Linked DNA regions of Homo sapiens: all the other regions are linked to region 4. The links are contacts of gene promoters, found by promoter capture Hi-C in blood cells and fetal thymus (Javierre and others, 2016). All regions are on one chromosome and are shown on one strand. Each heading gives the region's core, a stretch centred on a gene start or on the middle of the fragment in contact. The rest is flanking DNA. Distances are from core to core; before and after follow the strand shown.

The links. Contacts are between HindIII fragments. The CHiCAGO score rates a contact against its expected background, and 5 or more counts as called.
Region 1: a contact is called between a fragment that was not itself captured here and the fragment with the promoter of ITGA4 in region 4, in 1 of 17 cell types (megakaryocytes). The highest score is 5.1, in megakaryocytes.
Region 2: a fragment that was not itself captured here is called in contact with the fragment with the promoter of ITGA4 in region 4 in 4 of 17 cell types (M2 macrophages, M1 macrophages, monocytes and 1 more); the score reaches 8.8 in M2 macrophages.
Region 3: a contact is called between a fragment that was not itself captured here and the fragment with the promoter of ITGA4 in region 4, in 1 of 17 cell types (fetal thymus). The highest score is 5.4, in fetal thymus.

The regions. Positions count from the first base shown.
Region 1 is chr2:182,129,024-182,132,726 of GRCh38, reverse strand. It overlaps a transcript of PPP1R1C not described here. Among named protein-coding and RNA genes, the nearest start is that of PPP1R1C, 150 kb to the right of the region's middle. The HindIII fragment of the contact is 3,467 bases long and covers 410-3,703 here.
Region 2 is chr2:180,537,263-180,540,672 of GRCh38, reverse strand. No RefSeq gene overlaps it. Among named protein-coding and RNA genes, the nearest start is that of SCHLAP1, 150 kb to the left of the region's middle. The HindIII fragment of the contact is 1,768 bases long and covers 837-2,604 here.
Region 3 is chr2:182,079,642-182,082,910 of GRCh38, reverse strand. All of the region lies in intron 4 of PPP1R1C (protein phosphatase 1 regulatory inhibitor subunit 1C), which reads right to left. Among named protein-coding and RNA genes, the nearest start is that of PPP1R1C, 95 kb to the right of the region's middle. The HindIII fragment of the contact is 1,198 bases long and covers 1,001-2,198 here.
Region 4 is chr2:181,455,990-181,459,512 of GRCh38, reverse strand. ITGA4 (integrin subunit alpha 4) reads right to left here and starts at 2,127. Exons shown (of 28, transcript NM_000885.6): 1 at 1,662-2,127; 2 at 1,196-1,317. The coding sequence starts at 1,858. RefSeq lists enhancers at 1,081-1,130, 1,491-1,540, 1,601-1,790, 2,511-2,620 and a silencer at 1,941-2,330. The HindIII fragment of the contact is 9,740 bases long and covers 1-3,523 here.

The sequences.
Region 1 (3,703 bases), core at 894-3,393, 670 kb before region 4:
ATGTCCTTGCTTGAGAGGAAGGCTAAATTATACATATATATTAATTAGATACAGAGAGAGATTAATATATAGATTTATATATATATGTGTAGGTAGATATGTTGATTTGTTCACTGGTTGCTATATCATGTAGATATTCTATTTGGGGGAACAATTTTAATGCAAATATTAAACAGAAAAATATCAACATAAAGATAAAATAACAGTAACCTTTGTATTTCCTAGACAGCTCGTTAAATAAAAAATATCTTCAGACATCCAGGTGCACTGAGAAGCAACAATAGCAATTTCTCAAAGAGGAAAACTATGTACACATACACATACACACACACACACAAACACACACACACACACACACACAGCAGCAAACTCCCCCAATTTCATGGACTCCTCATTAGCAAAACAAGCTTTCTGCAGAGGAAATGAAAAAGGAAGGGACTTTTCATAAGTGGAAACTGTCCATGTGAGAGGAACAGACTCATTCAACAAGCATGGTAAGTCAGCTGCAGTCTAAAAGTCGAGTGTGTCAACACTGAAATCACCATCAAACCTTTCCTCAGACAGAAATGGGGGCAAAAGGAAAATAGCCATGGTGCAAAAGACGCGTTCATGTGGAAATGACTTAGCAGCAGTGGACAGGAAGCTGCTAAGAATAAGTTGTGTGGCCAGAGAGGGAGAGGGAAGGAGCTGGCCTTGCCCTCCCTCGGGTCCTCTCCCTCTGGCTATCTTTCTCTTTTCACCGGAGGCACCCTTTGTGAGGACCTCCTCACCTCTGTTACTGTGTCCAGTTTACTCTGGATGTCCTCCTCTGTTCTCACCTGGCTTCTCCCTAACAGACAAGAATATGGAAATTATAACTTTGGGAGGTATTTGTTTAGTAAAGTGTTTTTCTGTTTTTGTTTTGTTTTGTTTTGAGATGGAGTCTCGCTCTGTCACCCAGGCTGGAGTGCAGTGGCGCGATATCGGCTCACTGCAACCTCCAACTCCAGGGACAGTGACTGCAACCTCCAGCTCTGCCAGGGACAGTCACCCCAGGATCTCCAGCTTCCCTAGGCCCTGCTAGCCACCCTGGGGACTAATAATTCTCCTGCCTCAGCCTCCTGAGTAGCTGGGACTAAAGGCACATGCCACCATGCCCGGCTAATTTTTGTGTTTTTAGTAGAGACAGGGTTTCACCATGTGGCCAGGCTATTCTCAAACACCTGACCTCAAGTGATCTGCCAGCCTTGGCCTCACAAAGTGCTGGGATTACAGGCTTGAGCCACTGCACCTGGCCCTTTAGTAAAGTTTTATTTCTCTGTGCTTAATTTAATAGAAATCAGGTTAAATTTCTTCTCTATCTTTCCTTTAGAAACCTTCTTTTTTATTTCCATACAGCAAAACATTTTATGAATATACATATATACATATTTAGTGTACATTTTATATATATGTGTATATATACATATTTTGCATACACATACATGTGTATATAGAAATGTATACAAGCACATATATAAATTATAGACACAAACACACACACACACTGCTCAATAGAAAAAAAATTTAACTCCACATTGCACAATGAAAGAAAACAAGGAGATTAATTTTGGCAACTGTATTTTCCCCAGAATATTGCATTAAATTATCTTCTACAGATATAGTTGTGGGTGTTTATGATGACAATGTCTATTTTTTAACACTGTTCTGCCAATACGACAAAAAACTTACTTTGAAAAATCTTATTTAGGTACTAACCAGTTCCAATTAACTCCTTCCTATATATTCCATTTATTCTGACAATAAAAGTGTGTAGCTCGAGCTTGTTATCATAGGCAAGTCCAGGATTTAGTAGTATCATTCCTGTCTTAGAATTGACCTTCATGTCATTTTAATTTTTAAACTATTGGGTGTTCTCAAAAGCAAATAAAGGACCAATGTAATATTTAAAACACTTGACAAATGTAACAAACAAGTGACAAATTCAAAACAGAAAAATCTATGTTTCATTAGGGTAAAAGAAGAGAGCAACATATAATTAGTCTGCTTAGGAAAACACATCCACAGAATATATGCTGCAGGAGAAATGTAACAGGAGACTCACTCATCTACTGCAAGGCTTTGAAAAATGTTGGTATCTGTAAACAATAAAGAAAGAAAAGATATTCTTCTCTAATTATTAAAGAGATGTTCAACCATCTGCAAACTATTTTTTTAAGTTCTTGTTGTTCCCTTCCTTTGATTCATGCAAAGCCATGTTGTACCTTTGCTACTTTTGAGAATAATGGGACTTTGAAGTCAATTAAACTCATTCCTCAGCTTGAAGGGAGCAGCAGGTAGAATGTTGTCTTTGGCTCCTCATTAAGTAGTATATTGTTCCTTTCAATGATCTAATATCTACAGCATAATCCACAATTCCGCAGGTAGGTCTGGGTGATTATGCTTTTTCATATTTTATTTCTTTGGCAATACAAAGTCTAAGAGTAGGAAGTAAAAGTTAGTACTTAAATCCTGGGGCAAGTAGGGAGGATAATAATAATGAACAATTTGTGAAATTATTTTTATTTTTATTTTGCAACTTATGAGAAATCAAGAAAGGGAAACAAATTAAAGATTGATGCCTTGTTCTTTAAGAAAAGGTTATACCTAAGATTGTCATAAACTCAGCAATTCTCTCATTTTACATGATAAAGGTTATTTTTAAAATATAGATTTAGACATAGGAAACATTTTTAAATGAACCATGTACTTTTTTTATTAAAGTTTCAAATTTACTTCTTTTATTTCTTATAAGTCATCTTAGTTTGAAGTCAATGCCCAAGAATTAAAGTAGAACTCAGGGTTTTCTTCCCAGCTTAGCCTCATTAGCAAAAGTATCTGCCTATGCTTTATGTCTGAATTGGAGGAAGTTTAGCTCTAAGTCAATATATAAGACAGTATAAGAAAGAATAAAAGTCTATGGCTCCTAAGGAGGATAGGCTTTTTTATTCTAAAATCTATCACAACTCAAACAGGTCAGAAGCTAGTTAGTGGAAGCGTTTGTTGGATTATTGGTTCATTTGGGGACACTTATTTTCTTTGGACTCTAGTTTTCTTATCTATAACATAAATCCTACCTGTCATACATAATTAATGTGATTATTAACAGAAATATAGGTGAAGCCACTTAATTAATTATAAATAATTGAATAAATCTTTACTAGCAGGATGGCAATAACAATAAAATAGCCTTTTTATTTTTATAAGTCTGCTGCATAATTCAGTAGTTGGCAGGTAGTAGACTATCAGTAAAATCTGTGGAACTAAATTAAATCAAGACCAATGGAATTTGAAAAAGAAACAAGGCAATAAATAAACACAGTGGAATTTGAAAAAGAAACAAAAAAATGTTTTTGAAAGACTCCCTGTTGTAAGAGAAGGCTCAGATTCCAGAATTAGAAAAACTAAAAATGAATCACTTAAAATGTACCTAAACTCAAGATCCCTTTTTTAGTTGTAGAGAGGAATAAACTAAAACCAAAGGGAAGGACTTGGCAAATGGTGTAATAAAAATTATTAGAAAAAAGCAATAAGTGAAGAAACAGCTTCTGAAAAACATGTCAATACTTATGTATAAAATATCTAAAGTGCTTCAGGAGGTAATCCAGTAGAAAGCAACGTGGCATCATGATGGAATCGGAGGTGGTGTTTGTTTTGTGTTGGGATTTTTCCAAGCTCGAGTAGA
Region 2 (3,410 bases), core at 471-2,970, 920 kb after region 4:
CAGTTCGAAACACCTGTGATAAATGCCTGAGCAGCCTATGGCTACTGAAGGCTGATGTAAAGCCATTTGAAATGTAGCACGATAATCTCTTTGATTAGAATGAGATCACATTTTTAATTTTTGTTTTTTCAAGCTGGATACCATGGAGCGAGGGAAGGAAGGAGGTCAGGTCTATCTACACTTTACACATTTTCCAAGAGTAGGGGTCAACATCAGGAGAAAAATAAGAAGCAGCAAACTTATTTTCTGGAGCAGTGTAACATGCTGCTCTCCTGGTATTCCTACCTGTATAATTTCCCTTGTTACACTGACTGCTGAATAGGAAAGCTTGCTTTTTCACCACTGCTCTGATGTGACACTGGAAGTCTAGACAATTAACTCATTTATTAAACTGACACCATAAAGTAAATCATTAAAATATAGCACTACACATTCAGGATATGGTCCCAAACACAGATGAAAACTAAGATCTTTTAAAATGAGGTAGTATTTACTTTTTAAGTGAGGCGACATGTGAATTATTATTGGTTAATATTTATGAAGGCCAACAGTGTGCTGGGTATTGTATATCACCCTGAGCAAACAGTTGTTTATATCGTTTACATAGTTGTGTGTGTGTGTGTGTGTATGTGTGTATACCTGGTATCCTATAATAGGGTCATATGGCATATGGGAGAATGGATCATATCTCAGAAAAAGCAGATGAACATTATCAATCATAACTAATTTATATTCTTCATTTCTACCAGCTGAGGTTTCATTTTTTATATATATTAACATTTCTATTATACATCAATGCTTACAAAAATTATGACTGCTTGAAAAAGAGTTAAGCTTTCATTGTCCAACTGTAAGTTGCCCTAAAGTGGAACTTCCTTTTTTTGATATGTGAAGTACTCTATTTTTATTGAGGTTGTAAGTTGTTGGTGTTGAGCAATCTATAGTAAAGAGGAACAGTAGCTATGTGAGACACAATATTGCTCAAAAATATGTTAAGTTGAACAAAATTTTTAAAAATAAACCAATAAACCATGTGTCAAGAGCTGTGCTAGGTACTTTCTCAGATGATTTGCCTGTATAATTTATTCCACCTTAGAAAGACCATATTAAAAATAATGATCATAGTTTTCAATATTAAAGATCAGCGATTACAAAGAGAGAAATAGTACTGGATGGAATGGATTAAAAACTGATTGCACAAATGCACCAACAAGGTTTTTCTAAATAAAAAAGAGCCCCTTTCAACTGCTTTTCTTATGCCATTCCATGGAAAATTAGTTTTGCGAAGAACAAAATAATAACAGAGTCTCAGTTCATTTGTTCTGATGCCTAACTTTTAAAAGTTCTTAGGAATCAAGCTATCTGCAATAAGGATGGTTGAATTTCTATAATTTAAGGTACATATGAGATAAACATTCTCAAGCTCAGGTGCTTATAACTTTTTTTTATAGTTCAACAGCTTCCCCATGTACTAATTGATTCACAAGACATTTCTATTACTTCCACAGCTGGGGCTAGATATAATCAAGAAGAACTGTGGCACCCAGAAATAAACAAAAGATAATGGAACTTTTGCTGAGCCACAAAGAGTATTTTTAGTGTTTGGCTAAGGGTTCAATTTCACACTTGAGAACTTTCTAGTATGTCCCCTTTTTCACTGGTTTGTACCACTCACACTTCAAGGAGAGATGGAAGAAACTAAGTCAAGCCGACAGGAGCCATGTCTTTCAAGCAAGAAATACAGCTGCCAGAGAACACAAATGCGGACTTTACATAAGCGTAAAGCCAGCAGGGTGTCTGAGGACATCAAATTTCATTGCTTTTGTCTGTTTACTACAAGATGTAAAAACAGTCATTTGCCACCGGGGAGATGTTTCATGAATTGAATGTTATAATTTCATAATCAGATACTATGACTTTAGGGGACTAAATGAACTTTTCAGGAAGATTATTTTTTTTCATCCTGTGTTCCTAGAACAGGTTCTAGTTGTCTTTCAATAAGTGAATGTTAATTGCTTAAGTAGCTCCTGTTAGTCCTTTCTGGCCTCAACAAAGAACATTAGGAGTTCTCTGTTTCTCTCTGTCTCTGTCTTGCAAAACAGGTGTTTCTTCTCCTATCATTTCATAACTTCCCTATACGAGTTCTTTATTTTTGTTTATTTTTCAATTGTTTGGAATATAAGACACAACCACTTTTAGGAAGCATGCTTGAGTTGTATAATTCATAAATGGTTGTATATTTAAAATGTCTTTTTGTTGTCTTGGCTCGCGAACTTAATCTCATGAATGATAACTTGACTGGGCATAGAAGTTATTGAATTATACTTTTATTCTCTTTCCAAATAATTACACACTGCTCCACTTATATTGGCATCTAATATTCCAAGATTATTGTACCTTTTCCCACTTTGTAGGTGACATATTTCTTCTTTACAGATGCATTCAAGCTCCTTTCCTTAATAAAATATTTGAATAAGAAAAAGTCATTAGTTTGTATCCTAATGTGGATCTTTTTCCTTTATAAAGATAAATGAAATGGAAAACACTGTGATGTTCAAGACAGATTCAATGAACCAAATGTTGATATGCAACACAAACTAAGCTTCAGTGGTTTTATTATAATCTCACTCAGACTCACAGGCTGCAAGAGAAGACCTCAAACTGAACTGGCAGTAATAATGCCACACTCAACGTGTTCTGGAGATTGGACAGCTGACAGTCCAGCAACTAGTCCGGCCTAGTTCATGAATTTTGTTCACTCCCTATTCAGATCTTGCTTACGATCTTATGCCCTAAAATAATCTTAGGATGTACCCTAGCCTACAAAATCCTCTAAGTATCTTTTCTTAACATTTTACATTGGAGACTGTGTCAAGGTGGTGCCCTCCCTTACACATCTATTTCAGAGACTGGGTCTTGCATGATCAATAGGTATTCCCCTATGTTCTTTGGATGTGGGCTTCAACAGAAATTATCTTCGGGATACAGTTTGCCCTTTATATCTGAAAACCCATGCTTCTTTTTAAAATTTCACAAAATTTCTGTTCTATTATATGTTTGAATATTTTTATTTCTTTTTTTGTCCTATTTTCTTCATGAAGCATACCAATTATGCTTCTGAACCTCCATTATTATTTTCATAACTGGCATCTTCTCACTCTTTGCTCTTATTTCTTTGTCTACCTTTTTAAAAACTATTTGTGCTATTTCATTTGTTTTTCTTTTTCCTCTGGTTTTCTGCAGTATTGATTTTGTTCTCTTTTCTTTATGAAGCATTGAATATAAAATATTCTTCAATATCTTGGGGAAATTTTTTTCCAACTGTGTTTTCTTAAATTTATATATATATATATATATATATATATATATTTTATTATAATTTAAGTTCTAGGGTACATGTGCACAACGTG
Region 3 (3,269 bases), core at 350-2,849, 620 kb before region 4:
GCTGGGTATTATTAGACTCCACCAAGTGTTGCAGCTTCCCAACAGGTACCTTTTTGCTCCATAAAGCATTGCTAACTGGAATCCTTCTGTGACCAAGTCAAAGGGTGGTCTGGGGCAACACAGGAAAGGATGCCCTTTCTGCCTGTATGTTATAGTTGATCAGAGAGATCCTCTAGTAATATTACTTAGGTCTTCAATGTTTAACAGTGCTTTTGTTAAAATAGATCAATCTTGAAATTCTTATATTTCTATTGCTGGAATAATCAACATATATTCAGTACTTATTGAGTCTATGTTCTTCCGCGACTCAGATGCAGAGCCAGCGAAGGCAGGGCAGTAAACAAATGCAAGTGACAGAATTGACCCAGTCTTCAGAATCAGGCCTCCTCCATGACCAAGGCTGTCTTACCAGGCCAAGCAGAAACTCAGAAAACCTTGTCCGTTTGACCTTCAGGGTAACTTTCCACCCTTGATTTTATGCCAGACACGTGCACACATGCTTTAGAGACGATGTCCCATGTTTGTCAAACATAATTTGAAACCTGCTTGAAAACCAGGTGAGATATTTTCTTTTGAGAACTTTGAGTCCTGAAAGAAAATATTATCCTAAATGCATCCCCTCTGTTTACCTAAGTTCTATCACTTTAAATGCAAATGACTTCCAATTTCACATGCATGCATTCATCTGTTGCTTTATGAGTTTGTTTCTATTCTTTGCATGGGTGAAGTGAGAATTCCTAACTAGCTCACAAGATTAAGTGTAAAAAATGTCTTTGTGTCCCCTTATGGAAAACAGAGTGGTAGATAAAGGGAAATACAGAATCCTGCTCAAATCTCATTATGTTGGTGTCTGCTTTGTCAAAGTAATAGCTTTTGTTTATTTCTTTAAGCTTCAGGAATAAAAAAGACCTTTTTTTAAAAAAAATAGGCATAGGGAGGTATGTAGTCAGAACTTGGTATTTGCTTTCCCATTAACTACAAAGTTTCTGCACATGAAGCTTTTCTCCCTGATATTTATGACTTTTTATGTGGACATACGGAATTGGTAATATGCAGGATAAACAAATCTATATCCATAGTGAAATGGGCACAGCCTTTTATGCAGGCAGGATATGAGGTGTACGTGATGAGTGGTTGAAGTGGCTTTTCAACCGCACACATTAGACATAGTTAATGTAATTCCTGCTAAGTGCAGGAGTTTTTATTATGACATATTTTAATATGACACAATACTTTTTTTTTACAAAATGCATCCAGAAGTTATCGAAGTTCATTTGTAAGTTAACTCTGATAGCTGTATTTTAGAATTAAGTTTCTCTCATTTGCTTTACTAAATGATCACTTTTATCTGATCAATGCTTTTCAGAATCAACACTCAATAGGTGCTGAATATATGTTGATTAATCTAGCAAAAGAAATATAAGGATTTCAAATTTTCTATCACAATTTTCTACTCTTCTCTGTTTAGCTACTTTCTATAACTACTGCAACTGCAATGTATTGAATCTTCTCTTTGAAAGAAGACTGAAAAGAGGTTAAGGCACTCATTTGTATTCACCCGGAAACTGAAACTTGAAAAAAAATTATACAATACTGATAGCCGCTATTTGTTGAATGCTTACTGTGTGCTTTTTCTCGTTCCCTTTAACCCCCTTTTGTATAAATATGGACACCAGTTGGCACTATGCTCAGAAAGAGTATACTACTTACCTCTCCATTTGCCCAATAGCAGCTAAAGATGTAGAAACCAAATTCTTCCCAACAACTGCACACACTGAGCACAAACCTCACTCTCTTGTTAAAATGCAATCAAACCTGGAAATATGCTTTAAATGAAGTTAATCATCAAATGAAGTAGCAACCAAATAAGTGTAAGAGTTTTAAAGAGTTTATGTCAATATGATGCTAAAATTATATCTAATGACTAGTATTTCTTGACCATGGATGAGGGGCATAGTACTATGCTGAAGCATTTTACATACAGTTTTTTCATTTCATTTTTACGAAAACCTTATGAGTATGTACCTTTATGATTAGGGAATTTAAATAACTTTCTCAAGGTCATATTTTACCAATAAGAAAACTGAGGCCAGAGCTATAAAATGGCTGAACATAATCAATGCATATTAAAATGGCTTTATTTAAATGTTGTGGGTTAGAAGCAGTTAATATTTTCCTTTTTTTTTCCCCTTAAAGCTTCTCCTTTTCTGCAATGAGTCAGCTTGTATGCAGGGCCACTAAATAAGGCCAACTTACTGGATATTTCATATTTCTCATTGTCATTAAATAGACATATAGTCTGAATTAGAGGAAATATAGTTCTGTTTCTATCTGAAATATGTGTGAATGTGTATTACGTGATGTATTGTGTTACGGTATTACTCTGCTTTTTATCTGGGTGAATGTTAAAGAAAGCCTGACCTGGAAAAGGAGAAATGAGAATATAACAAGTGAACTTCTCTCAAGATCCACTCTACAGGACCAAAAGGTTGATTAGTTATGGCAACAAAGAAGACGAAGTCGTTATAAATGATGTTGAGGCTTTGAATCTGAGCAAATGGGGGATAGTGATACCATTTACAGGAATTGGAGGATCCCCTGGTTTTCGTTTGGGGATGAACATAAAGGCAGTTTTAGATGGCTTAAGTTTAAGATAGAGCAGACTATTGGGGGATGTGCTGTCGAGAAGATATGCAATGGGAAATCTGTAACTTAGGTGAAACTGGAAATGGCTTGAACTATGCATGGCATTTTAGAAGTCACCTTAACTAAAACTTCTGCAACAGGCATTGTTCTAGTGCTTTATGTATAGCAACCTATTTAATCCTCAAAACCAGTGAGGTATGTATTGGGTTGAATAGTGTCCTCCAAAAATTCATGTCCACTTGGAACATCAGAATGTGACCTTATTTGAAAATAAGGCCTTTGCAGATGTAATTAAAATGAGGCTCGACAGGATGAAGTAGCCAATATTCTAAATCCAATAACTGATGTACTTACAAGAAGAGGAAACAACACACAGAGACACAGAAGAGCAGGCCACGGGAAGAGTGAGACAGAAACGAGTTCCACTCCCAGAAACACCTGAGGACTTGCTGAAGAACACCTGGGGCCACCAGAAACTGGAAGAGGCAAGGAAGGAATCTTCCCTACAGCCTTCAGTGGGAGCATGGCCCTACTGATACCTTGGTTTTTAGACATCTAGCTTCACCAACTGTGAGAGGAAACATTTCTTTTGTGTTAAGTACCAAGTTTGTGGGAATCTATTA
Region 4 (3,523 bases), core at 878-3,377:
TCTGAATTCATCTGAATGAAGGGAACCAGCTTCACAGTTTGAAAAAGAGCAAAGACTACTATAAAATACAAAAGAAGTTAAAGATCCAATAACTAATCTCAAAAGTCCATTTATAGCAAAGAAATATAAAGAAGTACCAATTTTATTCACCGTTTACAGATGACCCATCAGCTCAGCAGACAACATATTAAACCATTCACTTAATTTTATTTGCATTGAAGATACATACATGGAAGAAAATGGCTTAGACTTTGGACGCATTCAGACCCTAGTTTGACTTTAGTTCCCACCTATCAGTCACTAGCTAAGTAACTTTTAAAAAGGTATTTGCAACTCTGAGCCACAGTCCTCATACATAAACTAGGAACAATGTCAACCATGACCCAGGGTTGCTTTAAGGGGAAAAAAGTTAAGCAATATATATAGCAGTAACACTTTGGAACAAGATAGGTCTTGTTATTTAATATTCCTTCCTCTTTCCCCACTTGCCTGTGTGCAACAAACTTGTCTTTGGCTTTGAAACATGAAACTTCTCCCCTCTATCAGTACACATTTTTCAACTTGTCACAAATCTGAGACATTGAGAAATGACTGCAAAAAGATGGACCCATATAACATGAGTTTTGGATGACGGTTTTGGGAATGGAAAATTATACTACATTAACGATGAAGATGCCAATTTTCCTTTTCTTTTAGATTGTATATTGTAAGTAAAACTATCACTTTTTTTTTTAGGCCTTTAGGTTAAACGACGGGATATGGGATCAATTCCAATTGCTATTCCTGATATGCTCCTTAGCCTGTTCTTTAAGAGGGTTGATAGGTCAAAGATGGAAATAAAATTCTCAAGTCTTGGCTTAGCTGGATCCTGTCCTTAATACGCTGAGAGAGTCTAAAATGTGCTTTACACACGGAGAGACGGGGAGAGATGAAGAGAAGGTATCATAAGAAATTTCTCTAGCATAGTTGTCAGAGTACTGCAATCATTGCCATAAGGAAAAGGGAGAACGATATTAACAGAAAGGGAATCCCTTTTATATTAAGGAGGCAAGATGAGATGGAGTTGAAACTGAAAACTTTATGCTCTTTAAACCAGAAGTAACAGGCAACGTGAATCTTTCCAGGACTTGCCCTATGGTGGGGTCCACATGGGGGGTCGGGAGGTCACTAACTCCTGGTCCCATACCCAACTCACCCAGCTGGAGCTGTTCGCACGTCTGGCCGGGATTCTTTCCGATCCTGCATCTGTAAATCGCCCCGGGATTGATCACTGAAGCGTTGGCGAGCCAGTTGGCAGTGGGCGCACCCACTAGGAGCCTAAAGCGAGACACGTGCACGTGCGCTCAGACGTGAGCTGTGCTGCCCACTGAGCTCCCTGTCGCCACAGATGTGCAGTCCGCAGCAGGGCAGCTTCCCCACCTCCTCCTCCGCCCACCACCCCCGACTCGAAGCTCCAAGACCTTGCACCATAACGCACCCGGGGCGCTGCCGCCCCAAGATAAGTTAGTTTCCCTGGCAGATTTCCAGCGAGCTGGCTCTCGCAGCGTTTCCCTCCTGCCTCCTTGGGAGGGAGGAAAGTTTGAATCGGGCAGGGAATCCCTAGGGCGCCATTCTCACGCCGCTCTGAGCTGCTGAGGGCGCATCAGTCCAACTCTACTCACCATCGGTTCGCCCCGTGGCTGTGCAGCACGACCGAGTAGCCGAACAGCGTGTTGTGGGGGCCCTGGTAAAGCAGCGCGCTCTCAGTGTCCACGTTGTAGGGGCGGCCGGTCGGGACCCCCAGGCACAGCAACAGCATCACCGTCTCCCGGACGGCGGCCCTTCGGGGGCCGGGTTCGCGCCTCGCTTCCCAAGCCATGCGCTCTCGGTGGGGAACATTCAACACTAAACGGCCACTACCCCAAAGTTGCACGGGATGCGACGGTTGGCCAACGGGGAAGAACGCCCCAAGAGATGAGGCGCAGCGTGTCCGGCGCCAGCGGGCTAAAGGAAGGAGAGAGGGAAGAGGAGGGGAAGTCGGCCCACCGCGGGCGGAGCGTTCGGGCCGGCCTGGGATGCCGCGCACTCGCCCGGCCCCACTCCCGGTTTCTGCCGCCAGCCGGGAGCTTCGGGTGCTCGCGCTGCTTCTCCGGGTACGGGCCGCTGGGTGGGGTCCCGGGCGTGGTGCGGAGGCGCAGGGCCGGGCTCCGTCTCTGCCTACGCGCGGCTGCAGGGGGCGCTGGGGAACCTCGGCTGCGCAGGACTCGCGTCCTGGCCCGGGCCTCCCAGCCCGCAGAGCGCGGGATGGCTCTGGGCTCAGCAAGAGCGGACCTGATGGGGCACGGGCTTCCCCTTTTAACGGTGGTTGGGGCCTAGAAGCGGAGCTGTGTGACCCCAAACTGCGCGCCCCTCGCTGTGACCGCCCAGCCCGGCGTGGCCCAAATGCCAGCCACAAACTCGGGGAGTGGGACTGCGGCGGGGAGCCGTCCAGTTCTTTCGTTGATAGTTAAACACTGTGTCTTGTTTTTCAGGTGTAGGCAACCACTAGATAAATTATCAAGAGCCACAGATTAAAAACAAAAAACCAAACAAAAAGACTCGCCGAAGGCCCCTGGGGAACATTTTAGTGACAAAGACGTTATGGCTATTCTCTTCAAGACCCACATCTCAGCACCCTTCTATACCCACTTCCTTCCTCCCCACACTTCCTCTGCAGCCCGGGCTGCATGCGTGAGCAGGCTAGCAGCAGCCTCTCAGGCTGAACGGCAGGCGGTTTAGGCTGTGGCTGACCCCAACAGAGAGGTTGGGTTAAGGAAGCACTGTGACTTGATTCACTTTAACCGATTCGGATTGCTCCAGCTGGTAATTGATGATCCCCCCTTTTCACGCACCCACTCAGTTGCCACGGGACACACCTGCTTTTAGGGGTGTAAACCCCAGTGTGGGGTCAGGGTCCTAATGAGCCTCTGAAATGTGCCGGAGACCCACAACGCAACACACCTGAACTGGGTAGTGAGTCTCATTCTAATGCAATCCAGGTGTGCCCTGCCTTTTTTTTTTTTTTCCTTCAGCAACCAGAGAGACAGCCATAGGTGATTATTAGACTGATATTTTCAGGAGATGAAAGTCTAGTTTTTTATTGTTGCTATATGTAAAAAGAAAAGAAAAGTCTGCATCAAAGAGTGTGTCTGTGTGCTAAAACCATGCTGGAATAAATAACACATCTGACACTAATGACAGATACACAATTAAAATGCTTATTCATTTATTCAGCACATTCATGGAGCAGGCACTTGACTAGGACCACAGGATTCCACCAAGAGTAAGGCAGGACTGATACAAAGTTTCAAAAAATGTTCGCTCCAATGGTAGATAGAAAAATTTGTACTAACTAGAGAAAGATCCAGGTAAGGACACTTAAAGAGAGATTTGAAGGACCAGGAATCTTGAATCAGGCTAAGAATGGGATGAGCAATAAGGAGGGCTCCAGAGGAGCCAGGTAGAAGAACTGAGAGAGCTTGCCTGGCTAGAGTATTTAGCCACT